Linked DNA regions of Homo sapiens: all the other regions are linked to region 1. The links are contacts of gene promoters, found by promoter capture Hi-C in blood cells and fetal thymus (Javierre and others, 2016). All regions are on one chromosome and are shown on one strand. The core of a region is centred on a gene start or on the middle of the fragment in contact, and the rest is flanking DNA. Distances in the headings are between cores, read along the strand shown. Region 1 holds the start of PLXNB2 (plexin B2). Region 2 holds the start of CPT1B (carnitine palmitoyltransferase 1B). Region 3 holds the start of LOC124905149 (a long non-coding RNA gene).

Region 1 (3,764 bases), core at 1-2,500:
CCTCACCTCTGGACAGGAAAGGGAGGGCTCCTCCCACCAGCTGTTCAGCTGTTCCGTGCCAGGGTCATCTGGGCATGGGGCAGGCTGAGAGCCCCCACTTCCCGGCAGCCTCGCTCTCCCACCCGCAAAGGGCTCCTGAGGAAGCTCAACTTTAAAGCCTCACAGGCTGCGCCGAACCTCCAAGCAAGGGCCGAAGTCAGACATTAAGTGGGGAGGGCGGGGGGGTCCAGGGAAGGTGGGGCACAGGGAGCCCTCCAGGCCGCCGGGATCTGCCGGGTTTGGGGCCCACCCTCACCCTCACCCTCACCCTCACCCTCACCCTCACCCTCACCCTCACCCCCTGTCCTGACTCTGCCACAGCCCACAGTGGGCAGACGGACCCCTTTCTTCCTTTCCCAGGGAGCTTCGGGAAGAGAAATCAAGGGCCTGGCAGGAAGCCCCAGGGCGTCCGGGCTCTGAGACCCCCAGATGACAGGGGGAGGCGGGCTCCCCAGATCTGCCGAATAGCCCGACCAGGGGCGCTGGCAGGGCAGGGGCTTCCTGCAGGAGCAGGGTGCGGAGGGGCAGGGTCAGCAGGGGACAGGCAGGGCTCGCGCCCCCGCTTCTGAGACTTTCTGTGTCTCGGGGTGTCCACCCAGACGCCACTCTGGGAACCGCGAGGAGGCCCAGGCAGTGGGGTCTCGCCAGGTGCGGGTGCTCTCCGCCCTGGTCCCCCCGCGCCAAGCAGGCCCCAGGGGGTGCGGGGACGGCCCCCGGGAGCTCGGGCAAATCCAGGCTCCTGTGCCGCTGAGCCTGGGGCCGGCCCGGAGCGCCCGCACCGCGAGACCATCTCCGCTCGGCGCACGGAGCTCGGCGGCTGAAGAGTGAGAGGCAGGCGCGGAGGAGGGATCCGACGCGGCTCCGGAGGGACGCGCAGCCCCCGCCGCCGGGCCCGTCCCCCGAGTCAACACCGGGAAGGGAGTGGGGCGGCAGCGGCCCGGGCCTCGCCGGATGGACCGACGGACGGGGCCCAGGCCCCGGGAGCCCTCCGCGGAGCCGCAGCCGCCGCAGGTCCCCGGGCCCCAGCGCGGCAGGCCCGGGCGGAGCGGCGCTGACGGCGAAGCCCCCCCCACGCCCAGCGAGACGTCCCCCGCAGCCCAGTCCCCCGAGCTCGGTACCTGCACGTCCGCCGCCAAGGCTCGATGGCGCCCGGGCCGCGCTCGGCGCTGCGCTCTGGCCCGCGCTGCTGCCATGGAGACGGGGCCTTTGTGTGGCCGAGGAGGGGCCGGAGCGCGCGGGAGCTGCCGGCCCCGCCCCCGACGAGGGAGAGGAGGGGAGGGCGGGGAGAACAGGAGAAGGGGGGAGAGGGAGAGGGAAAGCGGAGGGGGAGAAGGAGGGGGAGGGGGAGGGGGGAGAGGGGGAGGGGGGAGAGGGGGAGGGGGAAGAGGGGGAGGGGGAGAGGGGGAGGGGGAAGAGGGGGAGGGGGAGGGGAGGGGGAGCAGGAGCGGGGAGGAGAGGGCAGAAGAGAACCGGAGAGGAGGGGAGGGGACGGGAGGGGAGGGGCTGGGCCTGCGCTCCCCGCGCCCCCCACTTCTCCCCTGCCCAGCGGCCACAGCATTGTCTGGTAGGTTCAGGCACCCCAGTTCAGACCCAGGTTCAGCCAGGGCAGCACCCTGCCCACCATGCCGCCGTCCAGGAAGCACGAGCGCCCACAGAGGCCCCATGGCCTGAGCACCCCCACAGGAACCCCGCAGGTCTGAGGGGAGGCCATGGCTTGGTACCAGGGGAGGGCATTATGAGTGCACTCTCGCCTGGCCAGAGGAACGTGAGGGTCCCTGCCAGTCTTGAGATGTGTGGGCACCAGACTCTCACTCCCAGACTGGAAGCATACCAGTCGCTCCCCTGCGGCCTTCAGGGGTGGGGGCTGCTGGGCTTTGGCCCTTTCCCAGGGGTCTCAGGCCCTCAACCTCCCAGGGTAAACTGGGACCTGGAGATGGCCTCCCAGCACATCCCTGGCCTCCAGCAGCACCTTGGGATGCTGCACCCGGGACCCCACCTGGTCCTTCAGGGCCAGGAGGTGGGCGGGCCGAGACCTCTTTCTGGGGGTTCTGGTTTCTGGGACAGAGCTGGCCCCACTTCTGGCATCCCAGGTCCCAAGTCCTGGCCTCAGTGCTCCTAGTGTCCCCTGGGCTTGAGAAGAGGTGGTGAACCGTCTGCAGGGCCAGACCTTGGAGCACGCCTCCACTGCCCTCCCGGAACTGGATGTGCTGAGCAGGAGACAGAAGCATTCCCCAAGCTCTTGCCCCCACCCTGGGTCACCCCTCCCTGGGGCCCGCCTTCCACCCAGACCTGCCCCGTCCTTGCAGCTGGTCAGCTTCCTCCTGTCCCCAGCCAGGCATCCCCTCCTCCTCTGCTTCCCCCACCCGGGATCCGCCCCGCCACATCCTGACAAACTCCCCCAGCCTGACTTAGTTCTTTCAGTCTCTGCCTTCTCCCACCCTCAAGCAGCCAGGCCTTGTTCCTGTCCAAAATCTTCCCTTGGGCCTTGAACCACAATCCACATCACGGCAACCCTACCCTTCACTGCAGAGGACCCCAAAATTACCAGGTTCTGACAAGGTTGCCAACTTTTTATCAAAAAAGGAAAAGACAAGGTCCAGTCACAAAAGGACATTTTAATACCAAAACTGTGGGAAGGCCACTGTTCTAGACTAAAAGGGAGTCTTTAAATAGCCAGCAGGAAGCTTGAGGGTGAGCAGCTGTCCTTCCTGTCCCTGAGCAGGCCCCCTGTGTGCACCCTCAGCCCCGAGCCCCACTCCAGACCTGCTCCCAGCCCTTCCCACCCTCTAGGTTCTGTGGTCCCTGTCCTTCGGGAGGCCTGTGACCACAGCAGTCCTCACCCTCGCCAACTAAGTTCTGCCCAGCAAGCCCTCTTGCCTGCGGGGGCTGGCACTCTGGCCAGGGGTAGAGCTGTCTGGACCTTCCTGCCTCTTCACTGACTGCCCCTGGCCTGGAGTGCGTGGGGCGGGGAGGGCCATGGCCTAGCCCTGGACAGAGGCTCAGCCAACTCAGAGCGGCCCTGACACTGGGGGGGCCACAAGAGGCATCCGGACAGATGGAGCTGGCAGGTCTCCACGCCCAGCCCCCACCCATCCACCCCAGGCCACATTCCACCCCAGGCCTCTTCTGCACAGGTGGGGACAGGCCCTGAGGAAGAGGGGCTGGGACACTACCCCCCACCTTAGCCTTAGCTTCTGCCCAGGGCAATGCTGGCCACCCAGCCCGGTTCCCCCCTCAAGTTCCCCCTTCACACGCCACTATGTGGCCTCACCAGAGCCCTCCAGGGAAATCTGCTTGTGCATTTCTGGATACACAGTGGCCAGGGTCCCTGGGGGCTCCTCAGAGACCAGCCTGAAGCCCCTCCCCTGCAGCCATGTGGGTCTGCAGCCCTCTGTGCTGTGCGGCAGCCCTCAGAAAGCCAAGTGAGGCGAGACTGTGCTGTGGGGAAGCACATGCTGCCACGGTCCTTGGGGTGCGCTCCCCAAAGTGGGGTCACAGTTGTGAGAGAGGTGGGTTGTCTTCCCAAGCTGCCCCGACACCTTGAAGTGGTGGTCCTCAGGGGGCTGGTCACCAGCATAAGGCTTTTGCAGAGGGCCCTGGTGGAGGGCAGCTGATGGCAGGGCCTGTACTGGCCCCCCAGGCCCCATCTTATGGAGGTCAGCATTCAAGCTGCCCACACAAGAGGTGCCAGCATCTCTGCAGACCCTCTAGAGACCAAGCCCTCA
Region 2 (4,052 bases), core at 873-3,372, 270 kb after region 1:
ACACAAAGCAAGACACGTTCTAGACAATTCCCTGGTTATGGTGTCAGGACAGCTGGGAACCCATGGCCAGGAGGCCAGTGAGGAAACCAAGGAAAGAGGTGACAGAGCCCGAGCTGGGCAGGGGCAGTGACCCCGGGACTCTGAGAAGCGGTGGCAGGCTGGCGGTCTCCACTCTCCTCATCCTTAGGATCCCCATTGCCCCTAAGCTGCTTCTGGACTCTTCTAGGATCTCCTCTCTCTCTTCCCTTTCCCTCAGGCCTCACTCCATAACCCCCACTTGCCCACGGAAGCTGCTACTAGAGCTCTGGGCTGTCCTCCAGATCCCTTGCCTTGGAGCTGGGACAGAGCTGAGCACGTGCGGGGACCTGGGGGCTCTAGTTCATACCATGACATAATAGTTGCTGTTCACCATGAGAGGGCTCCTGCCTCGAAGGTAGATGTACTCTTCCCACCAGTCACTCACCTGTGGGGAGGTGGAAGGTTAGAGCTGGGGCGGGTGCAGCCAGGACACATGGCAGGTGACAGTGAGCCCAGGGGCAGGAACTTACATAGTTACTTGCCCACCATGACTTGAGCACCAGGTATTTCTGCAGCCTGGGGGCAGTCTTGTCCTGGAATTCTTTGGCCAGCAACTCCATGCGGTAATATTCCTCATCATCCAACAAGGGGCGCACAGACTCTAGGTACTGTCCAGCCAGTTATCATCACCGTGGGGCCAGATGGCAAGGGCTGCCTCTATCTTAATCCTCTTCCCACCTCTCCCTCCTCACCCAGCCCCATTATTCTCAAGCCCTTAAGGCCACTCTTTGCACAGAACCTTATATTTGGAAACATCTCCTGAATCCAACCTCCCCTGCCCACTGGGATGCCCAAGCGAGGCCCTCACCCGCTGAATTGTGGCTGACACCCTGGGCACAGGAAGCTTGGGCAGAGATGTCTGGAAGCTGTAGAGCATAGGGTGCCGGCTGGATAGAAGGCGGATACACATCTGGGGGTACAGAGCAGAGTGCTGGGGTGGGAGCCAGTGGAAAAAATGGAAACCAACCAGCAACTCCCTGAGACCCTCAGAGCCATCCCAGCCCCTCCAGGACAAACCACACACCAGGCACCAGTGCCCTGTCTGCCTCTCCCGTCTAGCTCAGAACCCCAAAGGAGTCCAAAGAGTCTCAACCCAGGTGCCTGAACCCCTCCACTGGCTGCTGCTCACAGCCCAGATCCTGGTCAAGTTGCTGGTCTTGCCATGCATCTCAAACATCCACCCATGGTAGCAGAGAAGCAGCTTCAGGGTTTGGCGGAAGAAGAAGATGCCCGTCACCCAGACGCCCGTGGAGAAGATGGCCATGCTGAGAAGTGCCCGGGTCTGCGGGGTCTGGTAGGGGCCACACCTATTGGAGAGGGGCAAGGGCTGCAGGGGGTCCTCTTGAGGCCAGCCTCGGGTGGCTGTGAACTGTCTCAGGGGAGACACCAAGGGGAAGAACCTCCCTGGGCACACTCATGTCTGACTGCATCAAATGAGCGGATGTAGGGCTAAGACAATGGTTGTCATAGGGGAGGGCTGCCCCGTGACTGCCAATGGCTGCTGTCCTGTATCTGCCCAGCTCAGGAACCTCAGCCTTGGGAGCTGGGCCCAGCCCTCCCTGGTGGCACCTGTGCCCTTCCAGTTTCACTCCTTACCCCTGAGGGAGGCATCTCTGGATGCAACTGACCAGCCCCAAGGAGATGTCCACGTTGCAGAAGGAGGAACCCACTGTTGCCATGATGACGACCAGCCAGCTGGTGGGGCTGCCAGGGTACACGCCCCTGAGGATGCCATTCTGTGGGCAGAAACAGGCGCCCTTATGGAGCCGGAAGGCGGGAGGTTAGCCTGCCTGTGAAGTCTTGGGAACTGGCTCCTGGTCTTGGCCTGGAAGGCTTTCTCTCCTGATGCCCTGCTGTGCTCCTTCCTCCGCCACACCCACAGCTCCCTGTGTCCGACCACATCCTGTGCACCCCTCTGGTGTCTGTACTTCCACAACCTGTACCGGGCAGAAGTGCCAGCCAAGGAGGCAGTGAGGGACCCTAACAAAGCGCTTAACAGCTGACAGCCGGCCTCTGCCTACGCTCTGGGAGAAGCACCTGTGCGCACCTTGATGCGGATCAGGCGTTTCTTCCAGGAGTTGATCCCAGACAGGTAGACGTGTTTCAGGGCCTCCCGACTGAGCCGGAAGTCGACCCCGTCTGGGGTCACCGTGAACTGGAAGGCCACGGCCTGGTGAGCTTCCGCCATCCTGGGGGTTGGTCGGCACCTAGGACGGGGGCAGATGGGTGCGCGGGCGCGCTTAGGCCGGCCCCGCCGCCAGCCGCGCCGAGACGCCCCCAGCCAGTCCGCGACCCCTCGCGCCCCCCACCCCGCGACTAGCGGCTGCCCCCGGCCCGCGCCCCCCGCCAGGCCAACCGCCGCCAAATCCTCGCGCCAGCCTTCCGGGTGGGCACAGCCACTGTGGTGCAGGGGATTTGGGCCTTGAAAGCTCCAGGAGCCCCAAGGACGGCGAAGGGCAGCCTGGAGTTGGGGGGCGTCAGCGAGGGCGCGGGCAGGGGAGAGAGGCGCCCCTGGAAGTGGAGCCGGCCTGGACAGAGGCAGGGTTCGGGAGCCCGCCCTTCCCCACCCGAGCGCGCGGGCCCCAGCGCCGTCCTCGCCCCTGTGCAGGGCTGAGGGCCCAGACCCCCGCGGGCCGCCCTGTGCCGGCCCCTACTCACAGCTCGGGTTCACTCCTGTCCGTGCGTGGGGCCAGCCACTCTGGCCCGTGTCCCCACGTCCTTCAGGCCTAGCCACCCCCGCCCCGCCCTCACCAGGAACCTGACACCTACTCCCAAATCGGGGTCGGGGAAAAACGTGGGGCGAGAACCAGAACCCACCCACCTTCCGCGGTGGGAATTGCAGGGCGCGGCTGGGTTTCTGTGCGGTGAAGGTTGCTCAAAGGTCTGGGAGCCTGGGGGGCCCCAGAGTCTCGTGAGGATGGTGGCTTTAGAGCTAAAAATAGCCAAATGTAGGGAAAAGGTCACCGATGTGTCAGCTGCTGCCTGTTCTGGGATCGCTGGTGCTCCGGGCGGCATCCCCACCTCAGGGTCGTCTTCATACCCCCATCACTCTCCTCCTCCCCAAGTCCTAGTATTTATTATTCTAAGCTGCAGCCAGGGGACTGGGGAGGGATGGGGGACCCCAACTGGCAGCATGAACGCTAACCACTTTCAATCCCAGAGCACTGAAGAGTCCCTTTGTGTGTACTGCTCGGTTTGGTACTTTCTGCTGCTGCTCAGCAGGGCCAGGACAGGGTGGGAAGAAGAAGCTTGTTTATTGTGTTACATACACAGCACGGGGCTCTGGCCTGCCAGCCATGGGGACCTACTCAAACTCAGGAACAGGCCGGTCTCCTGAACCTCAGTTTCACTTGGGGGCTCAGCCCAGTCGCCAGGGCCTTCTGCTCGTTGTTCCTCCCTCCAAGGTCCTGCCCTGGAGGCTCCAGGAGAAATCCAAGGAGTGGGAGGGTGGAGTCAGGATGAGGAGTGGACACTGGTCAGCTGCCCCTTCTGCTGGAAGTAGAACTGGAACCGAGACTGGGCATAGTCCTAGGGAAGGAAACCCACCCCACACAGTGGTGAGAAGACGTGGGACCAGCATTCTACATCCACCTCAGGCTGCCCACAGCCACCCGGGACTCCCCAGGCCTCCTGGAAGAGTGTGGCTGCTGCTGCTCCCCAGCCCCCCAGCTAGCATTCCCATCCCCAGGGTCACTTACCAAGTAACCAAATTCTATGGTGGACATGGATGCCTGGAGGATGGACCACAGACCCCAGAAGAAATGGGATGCCAGAGCATACCTGGGGGGAGGGCAGGAAAAGGAGGGGCATTCAAGAGCATGTCTAGCACTGCTTGGATCCCCTCACCCAGGTTGGCCAATCCCTACAGTTTTAACTTCTCCCCCACTGTCCTAACTCCACTCTCCACAGCCACCTTCCCTGCAGCTTGATAAATCTGCCTCTTCCCCAATCCCTCTTTCCTCTGCTCTGCCCTA
Region 3 (3,656 bases), core at 8-2,507, 320 kb after region 1:
GGGCTGTGTACGTGTCTGTGTGTGGTGTGTGTGGAGTGTTTGAGGCAGGTGTGTGGTGTTTCAGGTGTGTGTGCATGTGTGGTGTTTGAGGTGTGTGTGTGTGTTTTTGTAGTGTTTGAGGGATATGTGTGTGTGGTGTTTGAGGTGGGTGTGTGGTGTTTGAGGGGTGTGTGTGTGTGGTTGAGGGGTGTGTTTGGTGTTTGAGGGGTGTGTGTGGTTGAGGTGTATGGTGGTTGAGGTGTGTGTAGTGTTTGAGGCACGTATGTGTGTGGTGTTGGGTGTGTGTGGTGTTAGAGGTGTGGCGTATGTGTGTTTGCGGTGGTTGAGGTGTGTGTGTGTGTCTGGTGTTTAGGGTGTGTCTGTTGTGTGCGTGTGGTGGTGGAGGCGTGGTGTGGTGTGGAATGTGTGTCTGGGGTCCAGTCTGGCCTGTTGCAGGGTTACGCTGCTGGGGAAAAACTCATCTGAGGACAACGTGATTGGGTCCTCGCTCCCTCGTTGGGCAGCCTTGGACTTAACCTTTTTGATCTTGAAGGAAAACACAATATGTCACCTCCAAATATATTTCCTTGACACGGTTCAAGACAGTTACTCAGAAGGACTGGAAATAGAAGAATAGCTGAAAAGCTGTCTTTTGTGGGGGAGATTTGCATCTGTGGAGAGAATCTACACTGATGCGGCCAGGCCTCCTCTGAGGCCCTCCTTGCCTGATCTGGGAAGAGTAACAGTCTGACGCCTTTAAAGGCCTGAAGGGAACATTCACCATCTGTTCTCTCTCAGGGCTGCTACCTGTGAGGTTTCATCTGTAGAACAAGGCCACCTTTGCTAGCCAGGCCTCCTCTGCTCTCCCTCCTGTAACCGGTCTTGCCACTGGTCACCTGATTTTCCACCATAAACTGTGGCCATACTTTGAGCCCATGTTCTTTCTGTAACCTCAAGATGGTATATAAGCTTCCGAACCCCATTGGGAGGTTGGGGTCATCACTCTGGTTCTCCCTGTGTGCATGAATAAATCTGTATGCCTTTTTTCTTACTAACCTGGCTTTTGTCAGTTGATTTTCTGTGAACTCAGAATGCAGAAAAGTTTTTCTCTAGGCTCCTACAGTTTTGGTGCAGTCGGTAGGATAACTAAAGTCACTCTCCTGGGAGCCTCCGTCAGGGGAACCCAGGAGCCGACAAGCTGGCAGAAAGAAGGGTAAGAAGGTCTTAGCAGCCAGGCTCCCGGCCTCTCTGGAATCTTGTCAAGCCGACGGTAAAAATGTCTGTTTACCTTGTTTTCCTCTTCAAAGTTTTAATGAGAGAAATGTATTTATGTGATTAGTTTTGTATTCATATTGTTTGATTGCTTTTTTTCCCCAGAAATAGTCGTCTTTCATTCTTGTCTTTCTGTGTTTTTCTGTCATAAAGAGGGTAGAACACAGGCCTAAAACCCCTGTAAACCCCGTCTTGGGGCCGTCCTGCAGGCTAGTCAGTTTTGCAGCTCTGATCGGATGCGTCTAGTTAGACAGACTTTGCTGTGGGTCCCTGAACTGAAAACTGGATGAGATTCTCCTCTCTTTTGATGTCCTTGAAAGCTTGAGTTGTGAGCGAGTGGGAATGATGCAGGCCAGGCAGACCCCAGAGTGGAGCTTAGCCAGTGAGGGTTTTGGCTTTGCCCAGGAAAGAATTCAAAGACAAGCCAGAGGTAGAAGAAAACAGCTTTATTGAACAGGTGGCGTTAGAGCTCTGTGACTGCTCCTGCAGAGCAGGGCCACCCCGTAGGCTGAGAGTAGCAGCTCAGGGCAGTTTTGCAGTCACATTTATACGCACTTTTGATTGCATGTAGATTAAAGGATGGTTTATGCAGAAGTTTCTAGGGAAGGAGTAGTCATCATTGGGTCATTGCCATGGAAAGGGGTGGCAACTCCTGGGTGTTGCCATGGCAATGGTAAACTGACATGGCACAGTGGCGGGCATATCTGACTGAAAGCTGCTATTGCCCCAACCCTGTTTTAGCCAATCCTCAACTGGGTCAACTAAGTCCCACCTCCTACCTCAGGAGCACTCTCTTGGCCTCTGCCAATCCGAGGTAGTGACTCGCAGGTCACATTTTGTGGTCAGTCTGAAAATGGTTGGGAACCCAAGACATTTAATATTTTAAGCAGCACCGTTTTTGTTCTGAATGTGTCAAGCTTTTAGTTTGTCTTAAGAAGTCCCTGCCAGGCGAGCTGTCAGAGCCCCGGCACTGGGAGTGGTGGTCAACTTGCGGGTTGGTAAAAAGAGTTTACCGACAATAGGTTTGAAAAAGGAAAGTTTGGCCGGGCATAGTGGCTCATGCTTGTACTCTCAGCACTTTGGAAGTCCAAGGTGGGTGGATCACCTGAGGTCAGGAGTTTGAGACCAGCCTGGCCAACATGGAGAAACCCTGTCTCTACTGAAAGTATAAAACTTAGCCAGGTGTGGTGGTGCGTGGCTGTAATCCCAGCTACTTGGAAGGCTGAGGCAGGAGAATTGCTTGAACCTGGGAGGCGGAGGTTGCAGTGAGCTGAGACAGAGCAAGACTGTCTCAAAAAAAAAAAGAAAAAAGAAAGTTTGCCGGGCACGGTGGCTCACGCCTGTAATCCCAGCACTTTGGGATGCTGAGGCAGGTGGATCACCTGAGGGCAGGAGTTCAAGACCAGCCTGGCCAACATGATGAAACCCCATCTCTACTAAAAATACAAAAAATTAGCTGGGCATGGTGTCGGGAGCCTGTATTCCCAGCTACTTGGGAGGCTGAGGCAGGAGAATCGCTTGAACCTGGGAGATGGAGGTTGTGGTGAGCTGAGATCATACCATTGCACTCCAGCCTGGGCAACAAGAGTGAAACTCCATCTCAAAAAAAAAAAAAAGAAAAAAAAAGAAAAGAAAGAAAGTTTATTAGAATGCTGCAGAAGAGTGCAATGAGGTGCCTCAGCAAGAGGACTGAGTACGCCGGGTGGATTTCTCCTTAAGGGCATTTATAGGCCTTAAAGTGGAGGCTTAACAGTAATTTGGACCATATTAGCCACGTAAGTCATGATAAATGATTACATTTATAGTAATTTTGGTGCCTTAATGTCAGCGACGGTTGTACAGTGAGTTTCGTCATGGTATTCTGGAGACACATAGAAATTATAGTTACTTACACGTTTTTTGGGGGAAGAAATCTGGAACCAGATGCCTGCTTTAGATAATAGGGAGGTTTAGTTACTTTTGATTTTCCCCAGATAAGGAGTTTTGCCTCGGAGGGCCTGTTTGATGTTTGATGGTCGCCAGGTGGTTTTTGCTCTCCTCAGGCCCATCCATAAGGGGCTTTTGTCATCCCAATGTTTGTTGCCTGGTCAGTCCTCAGAAAGCCCAATCCCAACAGGCCTACCCTGTGTTACAGGTTAATGGGTCTGTGACTGGCAGCCCCTGACAGATTGTGTGTTACTGGAGGCACTGTATGTACAAACACGTTCCTTAACTGTCTCTGGGAACAAGAGTCTTTTGCTGTCTTTGCCTATTCCTGGGAGTGAATTTTGGGGGCATCATTGGAACCTCCTCTTCTATGCCCTCTCTAAACCTGGAAAATAATCTTTTGGGCTTTCCATGAAGGGGCTTCTTGGATTGAGTTGCTATTGGAATAAATACATCATTGGAAATTCTGATTGTCAATA

What was found. The method cuts DNA at HindIII sites, captures the fragments that hold promoters and counts their contacts. A CHiCAGO score of 5 or more calls a contact.
Region 2: a fragment that was not itself captured here is called in contact with the fragment with the promoter of PLXNB2 in region 1 in 9 of 17 cell types (monocytes, naive CD8 T cells, M0 macrophages and 6 more); the score reaches 8.8 in monocytes.
Region 3: a contact is called between a fragment that was not itself captured here and the fragment with the promoter of PLXNB2 in region 1, in 2 of 17 cell types (naive CD8 T cells and total B cells). The highest score is 6.8, in naive CD8 T cells.

What each region holds. Positions count from the first base shown.
Region 1 is chr22:50,306,396-50,310,159 of GRCh38, forward strand. It overlaps PLXNB2 (plexin B2), which reads right to left and starts at 1,251. Exons shown (of 37, transcript NM_012401.4): 1 at 1,158-1,251. DENND6B (DENN domain containing 6B) reads right to left here. Exons shown (of 20, transcript NM_001001794.4): 20 at 2,635-3,764. RefSeq lists an enhancer at 1-104 and silencers at 412-562, 1,083-1,152, 1,163-1,362, 1,523-1,572, 2,273-2,322. The HindIII fragment of the contact is 14,640 bases long and covers 1-2,721 here.
Region 2 is chr22:50,575,650-50,579,701 of GRCh38, forward strand. CPT1B (carnitine palmitoyltransferase 1B) reads right to left here and starts at 2,778. Exons shown (of 20, transcript NM_152246.3): 1 at 2,737-2,778; 2 at 2,126-2,285; 3 at 1,675-1,814; 4 at 1,208-1,385; 5 at 887-988; 6 at 549-686; 7 at 386-463. The coding sequence starts at 2,266. It overlaps CHKB (choline kinase beta), which reads right to left. Exons shown (of 11, transcript NM_005198.5): 10 at 3,777-3,858; 11 at 3,314-3,606. The coding sequence ends at 3,532. It overlaps CHKB-CPT1B (CHKB-CPT1B readthrough (NMD candidate)), which reads right to left. Exons shown (of 30, transcript NR_027928.2): 10 at 3,777-3,858; 11 at 3,387-3,606; 12 at 2,126-2,285; 13 at 1,675-1,814; 14 at 1,208-1,385; 15 at 887-988; 16 at 549-686; 17 at 386-463. RefSeq lists an enhancer at 491-785 and silencers at 491-785, 2,270-2,349, 2,690-2,809. The HindIII fragment of the contact is 2,404 bases long and covers 921-3,324 here.
Region 3 is chr22:50,628,647-50,632,302 of GRCh38, forward strand. It overlaps LOC124905149 (a long non-coding RNA gene), which reads left to right and starts at 2,848. Exons shown (of 2, transcript XR_007068161.1): 1 at 2,848-3,656. The HindIII fragment of the contact is 623 bases long and covers 947-1,569 here.